Regions from separate parts of the Homo sapiens genome. Here region 1 is linked to region 2. The links are contacts of gene promoters, found by promoter capture Hi-C in human tissues and cell types (Jung and others, 2019). All regions are on one chromosome and are shown on one strand. Each heading gives the region's core, a stretch centred on a gene start or on the middle of the fragment in contact. The rest is flanking DNA. Distances are from core to core; before and after follow the strand shown.

Evidence for each region. The method cuts DNA at HindIII sites, captures the fragments that hold promoters and counts their contacts. A contact is called where the count stands out against the background at its distance.
Region 1: a fragment that was not itself captured here is called in contact with the fragment with the promoter of GJB5 in region 2 in 1 of the 25 tissues and cell types used here (bladder).

What each region holds. Positions count from the first base shown.
Region 1 is chr1:34,111,994-34,115,118 of GRCh38, reverse strand. The region is part of intron 1 of CSMD2 (CUB and Sushi multiple domains 2); the gene reads left to right. It also overlaps the pseudogene RNA5SP42. Among named protein-coding and RNA genes, the nearest start is that of CSMD2, 52 kb to the left of the region's middle. The HindIII fragment of the contact is 3,201 bases long and covers 1-3,105 here.
Region 2 is chr1:34,753,738-34,756,725 of GRCh38, reverse strand. GJB5 (gap junction protein beta 5) reads right to left here and starts at 1,679. Exons shown (of 2, transcript NM_005268.4): 1 at 1,531-1,679. The HindIII fragment of the contact is 2,696 bases long and covers 115-2,810 here.

The sequences.
Region 1 (3,125 bases), core at 256-2,755, 640 kb after region 2:
TATTTTATGGGGTCCTCTAAGTTCCTTAGGCTTTATTCACTTTTGTTCATTCTTTTTTCTATTTGTTCCTCTGACTTAATAATTTCAAATGACCTGTTTTTGAGTTCACTGATTCTTTTTTCTGCTTAAGTCTGTTATTGAACCCCTCCAGTAAAATTTTAAATTCAGTTATTATAGTCTTCAGCTCTAGAATTTCTGTTTGATCTTGTATTATAGTTTCTAACTTTTTGTTGATATTGTCATTTTGTTCATGCATCATTTTCCTGATTTTATTTAGTTTGTCTATTTGTGTCCTCTTGTAGCACATTGAGCTTCTTAAAGACAATGATTTTGAATTCTTTGTCAAATAATTAATAGATCTCCATTTCTTTAGAATTGGTTTCTGAAGATTTATTATGTACACCACCCTTCCTTTTTTTTTGAGACAGGGTCTCATCCTGTTTCCCAGGCTGGAATGGAGTGGTGTGATAATAGCTCATTGTAACCTCAACTTCTGGGCCTAAGTGATCCTCCTGCTTCAGCCTCCTGAGTAGCTAGGACTATAGGTGTACCACTATGCCCAGCTAATTAAAAAAAATTGTTTTTAGAGATGGGGGTCTTGCTATCTTGCCCAGGTTGGTCTGGAACACCTGGCCTCAAATTATCCTTCTGCTTCGGCCTCCCAAAGCACTGGGATGACAGGTATGAACCACTGTGCTCAGCCTATTTTCTTCCTTTAGTTGAGCCATGTTGCCTTGTTTTTCGTTTTTTTTTTTTAAGTGTGCTTTGTTATTTTTTTAGTGATTTCTGCATTTGAAAAACAACAACAACAACAACAACAACAAAGGAGTTCTCCCAGTCTTTACAGAGTAGTTTTACACAAGGGAAAGTCTTCAGCAGCTAGAGGTTCTGGGGGCTTTCCTTGGGATATATATTCTCTGAGCTTGCATGTGTACTTTCTTAATTAAAGAGGTTTACTGGGTCTTGTTTGTTTTTCCTTCAAGGGTTTGTAATTTCTTGCTCCCTCTGGTGTCTGATTATGGTACTCAGGTTCTCTGGTGTTGCAAAAAGCCAGTGAACTGTCTTTTGTTCTCCATGGCCCCCAGGCATTGAAAGTATGCTGGTTCCCCATCAGCACTCTGGTTTCTGTCAGGTGAGACAGAAACCGGTCCCTCTGCAGCCCACTGAAAAGTGGGAACACTGAATGTATGCTATGCTCTTCTCTTTCCTTTCCAAGGGGGAAGCTGCAAGTTGAACTTTTTCCTTCAGTCTCACTGAACTGTGACAGTTGGGAGAAGGGTTTTTATGGTTGACATGAAACAATTTTTCTTATGCATTTCAATATGGTGGCTTTTCACTTTGAGCTTGCCTGGGGTACTGTAACTTCTTAACTGGTTTCTAGAGTTCTCATAAAGGCTTTTTTGGACTGTGTATTGTTGTTAAGTCAGTGTTTCTGTGGGGCAGAATGTCTGGGGCTTCCTATTCTGCCATCTAGCTGATGTCACTCCCAAGCCCCTGGCACCTCCTCCAGGCACCTTTCCCCCACTGCCCCTCAGCAGAAGCCACAGGACTGTAAGGGCCATGAGGGGGCGCCAGGGATTTACAATTATAAAGGTCTTGTTGGGCCATAATAAAGTCTCTCCCAGCTAACAAGTGACCATGGGGCATGTGATGGTCTTGCTTTGTTCACCCATGTGCGTCTTGCATATTATTCATGCTATGGATGAACATGTGCTCCTAGCCATTTCAAGGTTAGACATGTTTTGAGAGGATGTTGCATCTGTGACAACTGTCAGGAGTCACAGGTCCTGGGTCGCTGCTCTGCCACCCATGTGTGACACCTCTGGCTCTCTCAACTCATGCGTTTTAAGACCCACACTTTCTCTTGGAGGGCATGGGGAGATAAATACCTCTTGATCCTAAGAATTCAGTTGGGAAGTGTCACAAGGAGGGTATGAGGAAGCTCAGAGACACAACCATTTCCAAACCCAAGTTAAGAAGTCTGAGCCATGAGTGACTCAGCCAGGAGTAGAGCTTAGCTCACAATGGTGGGGTTGAAGCTGGGTCCTACCTTCCCATCCATGTCCTTCTTTTTCTCCTTTCTCCCGTCCAAGTACTAACAAGGCCTGAACCTGCTTAGCTTCCGAGATCAGACAAGATCAGGCACGTTCAGGGTGGTATGGCCGTAGATCTCTTTTTCTCCTTTCTATAAATTCCTTGCTTTCCTATATTACACACCCACACACCAGCTGCCCCTCAGCCATGAGCATTGTCAGGGAAGGGTCAGACTGTCTTTTAGGAGGCCCTAGTAAAAATCCATTGAATTGGCTTGAATCCTTTTCTTTCTATATCCCCATGCTACTCCCAAGCCTGTGAATTTCTTGCCAGAAATCTCTAGCATTGGACTAACTAGATTCTAGAGGCCTATATAGATTTTACTCTTTATAGATTATCTTATTGGAAGGCACATTCATTCATTCATTCAACATATACTTTTGATTTTTCTCAAGGCTGCCCATATGACCCAGAAATTCATGCCCCAGTCTCTGGCATGGTGACAAAGCATAGTATGCCCACAGGAGAAGAAGGCTAGTATTGGAAGTATTTCTGGAGGCTTTGAAGGGTCTCCAGGACATTCATTCACATAACTCTGCAGAGCAGTCCACTGGGAAACCCTTTGAGTTACCTCATGGCTGGAGTGCCTATAGATAGAGCTGTCTGCTGCAGTGTGGAGGCGGTTGGACAGCAGGTAGTTATATAGGCTGGGGCTGCAGCTGACAAGACTGGGGAAGCCCAGGGTGAGCAAAGGCCATTAAGGGCAGAACTGGGCATCTGGGGAAATGGCCATGGCAATGTCTTCTAAACAGAAGTCTGAGGTCACTGGGCTGGGTTCTGAACCCAGTGTCTCCACATGCCCAGCCTGATCATGTTTTTCACCTTGGTTTGCATGTGTATGGGCAAGGGGCAACAATAAGCTTGTTAGGGTTTCCTTTTATAGAGACTGTAAGAGGAAGTACATTTCTCTACTACTCCCTGACACAATTTTTAGATTATCTGTCCACCCACTCAGATATATTTTTCCCTCAGTTCATTCAAACTGCGAGAGAGAAAGAGAGAGAAAGAGAGAGAGAGAGAGAGAGAGAGAG
Region 2 (2,988 bases), core at 430-2,929:
AAGTGCCACTCAATGCAATCCAGCTGAAAGCTAAAGCAGGCAGCAATAAATTCTCTTCATACAGTAGGTTTCCTAGAGTAACCTGGTATTCCAGTGTTTCCCAAACAGTGTTCCCTGGAACCCTGTCCCATAGGTTGGCAATAGGAGAAGTGAGAGAAGAGGATTCTGTGTCAAGAAAAGTTGGCAAACATTGGGTTTAGTAAAGTTAAATAGGGTTCTTTTGCTCAACCGTGCTAATAAACTCACTAATAAATTCACCAAAAGAGGTATGAAATATGTGGCATTGCCCAAACTCATTTGCCCACAGAAGCCCTTTTCCTCCTGACATAACATTTATCATCTTGTGGAACAGCCTTGTCAAGACATCAAGTGGGAAATGCTGCTCCTGTCAGTTCTGCTGGTGAATTTGGCCTGATGAACTCACAGAATCAGATTCACCTCCGCGTAAGGACTGTGACTGCTAGGCAGAGTAAGGGGTCCCCACTTCCTCACCCGCGAGTCCTCTGCCTGATTCCTGGAGATGGGGGTGTGTCCATTAAGACCCATGCACTGTGGTTTCAACCAACTGTGCACCCTGGGACCCCAAGGAACCTGTCTGCCTAGCCACTAAAGGGCTCATGATGGCCTTCCCATGCTGGTCCAGGCTGAAGCTCACCAGGCTCTCTGGAGCCTCTGCATGATCAACTGCAAAGCAGAGTAGTGATAACAGCCAATATCCATGAAGCATTCATGCCGTGCCAGGCACCGCTCTAAGTTCTTTGTATGAATCAGTACATTATTCCTTCACAGCAACCTTAGGAAAGGGCATATTTTTTATTCCCAATTTACAGATGAGGAAAGAGGAACACAGAGGGATTAATTAACTTGCTCAACGTCACACAGCTAATAAGTGGCAGAGCTAGGATTTGAACCCAGGCAGGCTGGCTCTAGAGCCCACCCTCCGGGAACTGCCCAGCCTTAGGCCTCAGACCCTTTCCTCAAGTTTCAATGAGCTGCCTGCCTGTTTGTGTGCAGACGGATTCTGTCCTTCCCCTTGTGTGTGGATCCTGGATGAGGGTGGCTGGGGGAACCTTTGCCCACCACCCTGTCTCCACACCACCTGCGCCACTTGGACGGGGGATGGGTGGAGGTGGGGGCCGGGGTTGGGGGGAGCTCTGTTTTGAATCACCATCTTGCATGCTCAGTCCTGTCTAAGGTAGGACTCCTGCAGCTTCTCAGGGAACACCCAGGAAGGCCCCGCCCTTAGCCCCAGGGGCTCTCACCCAGCCCATCCCTACTTGGGGAGGAGTGGGGCAGGGCTTTGCAGGCCCAGGCAGAGCTACCCTGCCTGCTGAGCTTCCGGCCTGGCCCCTGCTCCTACCTTTGCCCGGCTGGGGAGACCTGAAAGAACCCAGAGCCCCTTATTCCTCCACCATCAGGACCCAGGGTGGCAGATGTGTCCAGGCCACATCCCACCACTCCCCAGCAGAGAAGTGTCCTCCTGCCACGTATGCCAAGGGGCAGGGCACATGCGGACACAGATGCCCTTACCTGAGTGACTACTCCTCAGGGCTCTCCTGGCTCCCAGCAGCCGGCAATAGGACTCAGCAAGCAGCTTGAATTTCATATCCAGAAGCGGGGAAGGTTTTCGGGGAAGCCCGTTGAAGCCTGTTTCCAGGACAGAGCCTGCCGGGTGTGCTGGCCCAGCCTGGGAGGAGGAGGAGCTGGGACCTGCACTGCCATTGGCTGGGCCCCAGCCTCCCCAGACTGCTTCTGATGAGGCTCAGGAAACTGAGGGGTTCACTCCTCCCAGGGCGCTGAGCCTCGAATCCTGGTATCCTCTCAGGGGAGAGCCACAGGTCCACTCTGACTCCTTGTTCATCCTCCCATCTGTGGGCTTGTGTGGGAGAAGCTGAGGCCTGAATCCCAGCTCTGCCACTTTCTCACTGTGTGATTTCTTGCCTTCTCTGTGAAAGTGGGAAAAGAACAACACCTACCTCATAGGGTGGATACGTGGATTAACCCAGCCTTAGGGGTGAAGTGCTTAGAACAGTGCCTGACACAAGGGAAGCCCTGTCTACAATTGCCTATAATGCGTGTATACTGCCCAGCACAGGCCTGCCGCATGGTATGTCCTCAAAAAAATGTTTCTTCCTCCTCCTTTTCCTTATTCCTAGGCCTTTTCTTTCTGAGATACAGGGAAGGCAGAGGAGAAGGGAGGGAGAGAGAGACGTATGCACTAGAGAAAATCTCATTTGGATGCATGTTGTCTTTGGGTTAAAAAGGCCAAACCCAAGCCAGGCAGGAACCACAGGAGAGGTGGAGAAGGTGGGCAGGGGCACCTGGGGAAAGCTTCTCATTAGTGCACAGACACGGTCTTTTGGCCTAATTGACTTCCAAGGTGCCCTGTATCAGCAGGTCACTTGGGGTCAGGATTCAACAGACAAAGCATCCAGGAGCCACAAACACCTCATGTCCACAAGCAAACACAATGTAGCTTCACATGAGCATACTCTTACACACAGGCCACAATTATGGGCACAGTGTTGCACACACATGCAGCAGTGGCTTTATTTTATTCACTGCTCTATCCCTTGTGCCTAGTATGGTGCCTGGTGTCTTGTCCAGTTAGGCTTCAATTTATATTTATTGAATGAATGATGTGTGAAATGCACACACCCTGCAGAGAGTCACACATTTCTATACTCCATGCTCTTTCCAAAAAGCTGTTGCCAAGTACAGGAGAGAGGAGGCATATAAAGAGATCAGTTACAACATTGTGAGAAGTCCTAGAAAAGACACAGAGAGAGAAGGGAGTTTTAAGTTCTGCCAGAGGGAGAGCCGGAGAAGGTAACATTTAAGCTGGGTCTTGAAGGATGTATAGGAGTTTACCAAGAAGAGATGCTGAGGAGGGGCCTTTGAGGCAGTGGGCACATAGCGTGCAGAGGACCTTTGTGAAAAATAATGGAAGAGCATTGGAGAGTGGGCTGGGTAGTGGTGGGGACACCA